Regions from separate parts of the Homo sapiens genome. Here region 2 is linked to region 1. The links are contacts of gene promoters, found by promoter capture Hi-C in blood cells and fetal thymus (Javierre and others, 2016). All regions are on one chromosome and are shown on one strand. The core of a region is centred on a gene start or on the middle of the fragment in contact, and the rest is flanking DNA. Distances in the headings are between cores, read along the strand shown.

Region 1 (4,479 bases), core at 782-3,281:
ATCCCATTTCTCAATCCAAATGTGAGCAGGAAACTGTAGGAGAAGGATATTTTCCCTCATTTGGTGTCCCGGAACATGACTCCCTGAAGGGAGCCATTCTGGGGACAATTGGAGGGTGTGGTATGCGTGTGCACACATGCATTTGTGTGCCTGGTGTGCGTGTGGGGGTTGGCACCTCTCTAGAAGTGGACCCTTTGGGATGTCCTAGCTTCTCCTGCTGGTGGATGAAGCCTTTCTAATGGCTTTGCTCCTTGCTCCTAGGCATGAGCTTGAAGGGGGATAATGAAGGGCGTTTAGGAAGTTGCTCAAGGAAGACTGTCTGAGGAAACTGCGTACTGGGCTGAAGAAAGACAACCGGAAAACACTGAAGGAGCGCTCAGCCACTGCACCTTCAAAAAGGCAGAAAAGTCAGTTCAGGGAGGTGCCTCCCAGCTACCCCACCCACCTCAGGAGGGGTCATTCCAACCTAGGGTGCTGAGAATCTGGGTGGGATTACCAGCAAAAGCTAGAGAACCATGGGTCAGCGACCCTTAGGAAGAAGTGGAAAGGAGTCTTAACTTACCTGCAATAACCTTCCTATGCGAAGTTGTGGCTAACGCATGCCTAATGGCTAGAATTAAATGCTGGGAATATAACGAGCTCAGCACAGGTTATCCGCGTGTCAGATGTTCCTGCTGTCTTCTACAGTGGGGACATTTCCTAGCCTATTCCCAGGCTCCTTTAGAAGGGAAGTGGAGGTGCCCCATCTTCACCTGCCGCGTCCCCTCCAGCGTCTGCCCGGGCCCTGGGCCTGCGCTCCCTCGCGGTGGCGCCAGGTGGCGGGGCTGCGCGCCCTGGAGGAGCTGCACCGCCGTCGCGGGGCTCTCTCAGCACTGAGGACACCACGCCCTGCAAATTGTTGGGAACTTGTCGGTGGCAATCACACTGCTGGCTCCTGCAAACTGGTGTGAGGCCCTCAGGGGTGAGAACAGGATTGCAGAACTGCGCTCACCCTTTTGGAAAGTCGTCCAGTGGCAGAAGTAGCCTCCCAGGAGCAGAGCGAAGCTGCTCGGTGGTCCCCTCTCCAACCAGGGACCCAAGAAGCCGCTCAAGGGAACACGGCCCCGCGGCGTCCGGGAGGTCCTGCAGGAGCCCTGCGGCTGCCCCGGTTCTGTGAAATGGCAGTGAGGGTGGGGGAGATGTGCGCTAAATCCTGGGAACGTGCGAGTCATAACTTTCCAGGAGAGGGGCCCAGGGCGCTGGTCCTGCAGGGCGTGGAACCCTCTGCTCTTCCTGAGCAGGCTTTGTCCCCGGGTCGACACGGGGAGCTCAGCGTGAGGCCCGCCTGCAGCGTGGACGCAGATCTTTTTTATGGTCTGCGTTTCTGTATTAGCCTCAGCAGCCTGGTGACGCCTTTATAAAAGGTCGAAACACGATAAATTGCCAATATTCCACGTTTTATGTATTCCCCCCAAAGCCGACAATTAACAATGACTCACCGAGCAGCAGATTCTTTGCACACATCCATAATTGAATCAGTAAAATCCATGTGTTGGAGGATATGCAAATTGCAGGTCGTTAACGCTTTAGAACGACACATTTCTGTATCGCCCCGTGAAGAGCTCTACGCACATGAATGTTCCCCGTCTGTTTAACTGTTACGGCCGCAGTGTGTGGGCCGCAGGCGCGCTGGGGGCTCATCTGCTGATTTTGCTGCCCCTGGAGCAGAGGGATAGCGAAAGCGGGGCTGAGCGCAGCACGGACCGATCCCATCGCCGCGCTCGCCCCGCGTGGAGGCAGCCGGGTGCCCGAACCTGAAGGAGGACCCGGTGCCGGAAGGGCCCGCGGACCCCGGCGTCTCCCGGGGCATCGAGCGCCATCGCCCGCGTTTTACGGCCAGGGAAACTGAGGCGGCCGCCGAGGGGACGCCTCGCGACGGTTCCTGGGAGAGCTGGCGGCGGCCTTGCTCTGCGCGCTCTTCGCGCCGCCCTCCCCGCCCGCCCGCCTCAGGATTGAGGAAGTGCGTCTGGGCCCGGCCCCGGCGCGGGGGGCAGACGGCGGTGGGACGGCCAGGCCCCGGCCCCGCCAGTGTGTCCGCCCGGCCCCGCGTCCCGGAGCGCCCGCACCCGGCCCCGCCGCCGCCTCAGGTAAGCGCCGCTCCTGCCGGCGCCCCCCGGCGGCCTGGCTGCCTCCCGGCCCCGCCCGGGGAACCCAGAGCCCGCGCCCGGCGCCCGCGGGGAGCCTCGGCCTCTGCCTGCCCGCGGGCCCCTGCGCTCCGGGCGGCCGCGTGGTCGGGCACGGGGGGCCGTTGCGCAGGGGCCGCGGCCCGAGGGGCGCGGAGGGCGTGTGGGGCGACCCCGGTCTCACGTCCCCGCTGCCTCCCGCCGCGCCCGGAGCCCAGCCAGCCTGTGGGAGGGGAGCGCGCGGGGCCCGAGCAGGGAACCCCGAAACCCCGTCCGGGCAGGGTCGGGAAAGCTGGGAAGCGGAGGCAAGAGACACGAGTCGGGAGACACGAGCCGGGGAGCCCATAGGTTTCCTCTGCCTTTGGAGCGAACCCAGTCCCTTAGCGGGGAGCGGGCGGAGTGTGAGCGCGCGGGTGAGCCCGTGCCGGGGTGTCGGCAAGAGACCGCCCGGGAGCCTCTCGCTGGTCCGGGGCTTCCTGGGGTTGCGGGGCGGCCCAGCGAGGCTTCACCCTCCTCGATGTCTGGGTCACGCTTCTTGCCCAGGTGGTCTCTGGCTGGCGCAGATACAACTGCTCTGTCTACCATGGTCTCTGCAAGCTACAGGGGACCTTCCTGGCAGGCAGGGACGCGGGAAGGAAGCCTAGGAAGGCCGGGGTCAGCGAGGAGACGCTGGTGGAGAATCTGAGAACCCCCGTGGCCATCTCAACCTACCCCTTCACAGTATGAGGCCGCGAAGTTTTTCTCCCACGAACACTTCCCCTGCAACAGGTAGAGAAACGGGGGCATATAGCTTTCAGCAAACCTCTCACCGTGTACACTAATGATAGAGTTTGCCAGCCACTCACAGGGTATCAAAATGCCCAGACATTAAAGGGATAGCTAGAACATGCACAATTTTGGAAAATGTTAACATTAAACGCCTTTTATGATTTGATTCTCTTCATCTTTGCCTATGTCCTGAAAGAGAAAATAATATAACAAACTAACCTCACACCTAATTTGTTCCTAAAGGAGGTTTTGCGGTCAGCCAAACCTTTCCCTCTCCCAAAAGTCGATGTCTCTGGCAGTGACCTCGCAGTCAACTCGGATCCTCAGATAAAAAACATTCAGTCTGTTGAATCTATGTCTAAAATGTGTCCTGATCTGTCCCCTTTTTCTTATGCCCCCACCCCCCACCCTGCCCCTTGTCCAGGGTACCAGCATCTCTTTACTGTAGGATTTCAGTTCCCCCTTCCTCCATTCTCTATATAGCAGCGTGCGTCTGTGTGTGTCTGTGTGTTTAAATGGGTAAATCAGACCATATCAGTCCTCTTTATGGAGTCCTTCAGTAGCTTCTCCTTGCAACTGGCACGCAATCCAGGAGACCTCCTTCTCCTCACACCCCCAGCTGATCCAGCCTCTGCTGTCTCGGACCACCAGGCCATTGCCCCAGGCCACACTGGCTGAGCTTGCTGTCCAGCACTGGTCCCCTGCACTGCTGCCTCCTGACTCTTCACACAGCCTCAGAAAGTCTTCCCTGGTCACCCTCTGAAAACCCACGCTCCCTCTCACATCCCTCACTCTGCAGCCTCCCTGCAGTCCCCATTCTGTACTCCTTCTTTATCTGTTTAATTTCTCCTTAATTATCTTGTGGTCTCCACTGGAGCTCTTGGGGTCAGAGACTGATCTGTCTTGCTTATTGCTGTGCCCTCATTCCCATAACTGTACAGGGAGATACCCCGTGCATGGTGGTAGAGTGACTGGATGGGGAATGGACAACCCTAACTTACCTGTGGTTTCAGACTCATGGAGCATTTCTCTCCTCCACCCTTTTTGGGCTCATCTGGGATTGAGAACAACATATTTCTCTGGCCTGCAGCTCCAAGATATTTGGATGCCCCCAAACCCATTAAACACATTTTATAGGCAAAAGCCAATGCTAGTAAGGGATGCAAATAGCACTCAAGAGATTTCTAGAATCATGGGCTAACCATTTTGACCAGGATTTTGTTTCAAAAAGGAACTAGGTGATATGAATGAGCATGTCTAGCATGCTTTGCTTGCAAGGGACTTCTAACTTCTAACTGATATCGACAGTCCTTCCCAAGCCTCCTAAAATATCTGGGCTTCTCTGCTGTCAGAAGCTTTATAGCAATTACTTAGCTGTCTGCTCCCCCACCAGCTTCACAAACTCATGAAGTTCCCTCTTCATAGAAAGAACTCAATAAGACATTTGTAGAATGAATGACAGGTTCTTCTCTTTTCTTTTCTCTAGAGTCTTGCTCTGTCACCCAGGTTGGAGTGCAGTGGTGCAATCTTGGCTCACTGCAACCTCCAC
Region 2 (4,479 bases), core at 1,379-3,878, 1.0 Mb before region 1:
GGCCCCCAGGAGGAACCAACCCTGCCTCACCTTGATCTCAGACTTCTCGACTCCAGAGCTGTGACAAGATAAATGTCTGCTGTTGAAGCCGCACAGTTTGTGGTACTTCATGGCAATCCCAGGAGATTAATATATGCACATCACGCAGCCCAGGACCCCAGCAGGCCTGCAGGCTCTGGCAGCGGCTGTTGGAAGTGGCCCGTGGTCTGCCCGGGGGAGACACTGACAAGGCCTCCCAGGCTGCCGTTAGCCTCCTCCGGTCTGCCCTGGCTGACTTTTCCCCCTTTCTCTTTTCCCAAAACAAACCCCAGCCCTCTTGGGACTCATTCATTTCTGTTTACCAGAAACTTAGCATGTAACTGTCTCAGAGCTGTTAAAAGTGCCGCCTCTTCACTGCAGGGTCCTTGCCTCAAGTTAATTAGCCTGAGGAAATTTCCAGACGCTCCCTTTCCAAAAGGCTGTTTGGAAAAAGCCCTCCCTGGGTGACCTCTGGCAGTGTGAGGGGCTGAGGGCTACCCTCCTCCCTGGGAGCAGACAGCTCTGCCACTTCCCCATGTGCATCCTCCAGTCAGTGACTGGACATCTCCAGGCCTCAGTTTCCCCGCCTGTGCAGCGGAGGGCTGTTAGGAGGATTAACTAGAACACTGCGGTGCTTGGTGTGTAGAGAGTCCTCTCCATGTGTTGGTTACTAGACCCTTTGTTCATGTTGTTTCCATAGAGAATAAAACAAAACAGGAACACTTGCTTGGGGGAGGGAGGGTGCAGGAAAGGTTGTCCAGTTGCAAGCGTGAGAGAGATTTATGTGTGTCATTTTGAGCCTCTGAAATGGCAGATCCCTCCCGGGAGGGACAGTCCCTGAGCCAGCATCCCCAGCACCCCCAAGGAGTTAGAAAGGCCAAACCTGGAGTGCCGCCCAGGAACACTGCAACAGAAAATGCATTTTAACACCCAGAGATTGGGGGTGCCCCATTACAGAGGCACTGCTTTACTGCTGGGGCCACCACCCATGCAAACCCTTTGCCTCGGAAAGACCAGCCCAGATGCCTCCCTCCAACAGAGCCAGCGTCCCTGGCTGCCCTCTGGTTCTTTCCCAGGGGCACTCCTTGCATTGCTGTGACACTGCCGTCACTTGCACCCCCATTCATTGCTCTTTGCAGACACTTCCCTCCCCCAGCAATGTGACTGAGGAAAGAAGGAGGGTTCCATGGTGAATATGAGGGATGTGGGCATGGCATATCTGGGAAGGAAAGGGGGACCCCCGACACCCCGTCCCAGTTCTCCAAAGCCCTCGGAGCCTGCAGAAGAGCTCTGCACGAAGGAATAGGATTGGCAGAGGGACAGAGCCTCTCTGTCAGGCAGAAGTCAAGTTGAGTGATGGGCACCCACCTGGACAGCTGAGACAGGGTCTCAATGTCTGACCAGGCTGAAGGGGAACTTGGGAGGGCTGGTTCTTAGCAATGGAAAGGTTGGCGTGACACTGAACTCTGCCTCTCGAAAGCCCGACCCCACCTATGGGAGACGGCAGCGGTAGAGGTCACCAGCATTGCTTAGAAGCAGCCCCCTGCAGACGTCTCCCCTACCCCCACCCTGGGCACCAGAAGGGGAAGCCCGCAAGAAAGGGCAAGGCCAGCGCAGGATCAAAGCTCAGCCTCCTCTCCAGCTCCAAGACTGTGGCTCTGGCTGGCATGGGAAGGGGAGATGAGTTTCAAATGGAGCTTGAGAGTGAAGATTTAACCAGTGAACGGGATGGAATCCTAACTCCTACAAGCAGTAACCAAAAGAAGTCGAAAGCTTATGGCTCCCTAATAAGGACTTAGGGAGCTGCTGCCCAGTGGGAAAGGGGGGTTCTGCAGTTAAGAGGTAGATGCTGGAGGAAACCAAACCATATTGTGTATAAACCGCAGGGGAGAGACTCCTCAACCATATGGCTCTGCTGACCCGTGGTGAGGATGGAATGGATGAGGATGCAGGCCCTGTAACTGGATCAGTAAAAGGCCCCACCACTTGGAGCAATGAACCTTCTGTTGAGCTCCTTCACCCCCTGTTCTTCCTGCTCAATCAATTCGTAGGCCTCCATATAGTCCTTTCTTTCAGCCTGAAGAAAGGTGTCCATTACCACCCCCAGTGCCCCTTGCATTAGTCAGGTCTTTCAGTGAAACAGAACCAATAGGAGATTCATATAATAAATAATTGGCTCCTGTGACTGTGGAGGCTGACAAGTCCCAAGATCTGCAGTTGGCCAGCTGGAGACCCAGGAGAGCCGGTGACGCGGTTCCAGTCTGAAGCCAGCAGACCCAAGACCCAGGAACAGCTAATGCTTAAGTTTGAGTCCAAAGGTTGGGGGGCTTGGAGAGGGTGACAAATGTCCCAGCTTGAAGGCAGTCAGGCAGGAGGCGTTCCCTCTTACTCATGGGAGATCAGCCTTTATGTTCTATTCAGACCTTCAGCTGATTGGCCACTTTCGCCCTCTCCTTGTGGTCCTGTCAAACTCCTGGGAAGGTGGGGAACACTTGCCCTCCTACTTCCTTGCCTGCCTCAGCTCCTCGGCCCACTCCACTTGAGCTTCTGCCTCCTGCACTGTCATTGGGTGAGTGGCTGATGGCTCACTGACTGCCAAGTCCAGTGGACATGGGCAGCCACACCTTACTTGACCTCTTTGGGACTCTCAGCCCTGCTGGCCTTGTCCCATCTTCGGTCCCTCCCAAGGGCTTCTGAGGTGCCACCGTGCACTGCTGGTGTTTTCACAGCACTGACTGCCACTTTCTGGCTGGCCCCTTCATCTTGTTTGCTGACTCCTGGTCTTGTGTTTCAGCCTCTAACCCTGGTGTTACCAGAGATGTTGTAGGTTCTCTTTCATCCTTGACCTTTTCCGTGGGGTGGGTCACATCCTTTCTGCCCACTCACCAATGGCCCTCAAACCTGCCCCACATCCTTGACTTCTGCCTGTGTTCCCAACCTGTCTCTCCCACTGTTTCTGGACATTTCTGTCCACATGCCTCAAGACACATTGACACACAACCTTCCCCAAACAGAACCCTTTATCTTCCCACTCACACTCCCTTGATATAGCCTATGGCCCCAACACCAGCCCCACACCGTCCTATACTCCTCCCTCTCCTCATGGTCAATGGCCCACAGACGCTTCCAAGTGGACCTCTTAATCCCCATCACATCCATTCCTTCTTCCTCATCCTTAACAACACATCAAGCTGTCCAGCACCACTTCTTGTTTCCTTTCTAGCCTCCCTTTCTCCCATTTTCTCACATTGCTGGAATGATCTTGCTAAAATACAGTTTAGTTGTATCTGCCCCCACCCCCAGCTCTGGGGGCTATTACACAGAGCTGCTTATCATTTGCTGTAATTGTCATGCCCTTTCACATATCTATGGCTTAGCTCATATCATTCCCCTAGCCCAGAATTATTCTTTACCCTTTCTGCCTTATCACAAACTGCCTGGAAATAATAAAGCTTAGAGCAGGGTGAAAAATATAGAGAACAGAAGAATGATAGAGAAAATTAATGAAACCAAAGTTGGTTCTTTGAAATGATAAAAAAAATTTGACAAACCTTTAACTAGACTGCCAAAGGAAAAGAAAGATTCAAATTACTAAAATCAAGAACGAAAGAGACAATTCCATCTGCATATTTTTCAAATATAGACAAGTTGATCTTATAATTCATATGGGATTAAAGGAGCCCAGAATAGCCCAAACAATCCTGGAAACAAGGTTGGAGGATGCACAGTTCTCTAATTCAAAACTTACTACAAAGCAACAGTAATCAAAATTGGCACGAGAATAACCATATATATCAGTGGACTAGAACTGACAGTCAAAAAAAGTCCTCACATTGAAGGTGTCAATGGATTTTTTACAAGAATTCTAAGACCATTAAACAGATGAAAGAATAGTCTTTTTTTTACAAATTATAAATGTTCATCTCTAACACATACCACATACTAAAAATTAACTCAAAGATCTCAATATAAAAGTTAAAATTATAAAAATCAGAAGAAAACATAGGTTTGAAAATTTGTAATCTTGGATTAGGCAACAGCTTTGTGGATATGACACCAAAAGCACAAGCAATCAAAGAAAAAACAGATAAGCTGAACTTCATCAAAATTAAAAAAATTGTGCATCAAATAACACTATCAAAGTCAAAAGACAGACCACATACTGGAAGAAAATATTGCAAGTCATATATCTGATAAGTGTCTAGTTTCTAGAACATATAAAGAATTCAAAGAATTCATACAACTTAATAATAAAAAGACAACTCCAATTAAAAATGGAGAAAGAAATGGAATAGGCATTTCTACAAAGAAGACATAGAAATTACCAATAAGCACATGAAAATATATTCAGTATCACTAGTCATTAGGGAACTGCAAATCAAAACTACAGTGAGGTACCACTTCACACTCACTAGTATGGCTATAATAAAAAATAATAACAAGTATCAACAAGGATGTGAA

Evidence for each region. The method cuts DNA at HindIII sites, captures the fragments that hold promoters and counts their contacts. A CHiCAGO score of 5 or more calls a contact.
Region 2: a fragment that was not itself captured here is called in contact with the fragment with the promoter of LRRK1 in region 1 in 1 of 17 cell types (naive B cells); the score reaches 6.7 in naive B cells.

Annotation. Positions count from the first base shown.
Region 1 is chr15:100,917,326-100,921,804 of GRCh38, forward strand. It overlaps LRRK1 (leucine rich repeat kinase 1), which reads left to right and starts at 2,032. Exons shown (of 34, transcript NM_024652.6): 1 at 2,032-2,126. ALDH1A3-AS1 (ALDH1A3 antisense RNA 1) reads right to left here and starts at 1,958. Exons shown (of 2, transcript NR_135827.1): 1 at 1,479-1,958. RefSeq lists silencers at 699-918, 1,679-2,268 and enhancers at 704-1,296, 1,049-1,138, 1,189-1,308, 2,483-3,074, 3,601-3,660. The HindIII fragment of the contact is 4,524 bases long and covers 1-4,283 here.
Region 2 is chr15:99,916,726-99,921,204 of GRCh38, forward strand. No RefSeq gene overlaps it. Among named protein-coding and RNA genes, the nearest start is that of LYSMD4, 190 kb to the left of the region's middle. RefSeq lists an enhancer at 1-735. The HindIII fragment of the contact is 1,679 bases long and covers 1,790-3,468 here.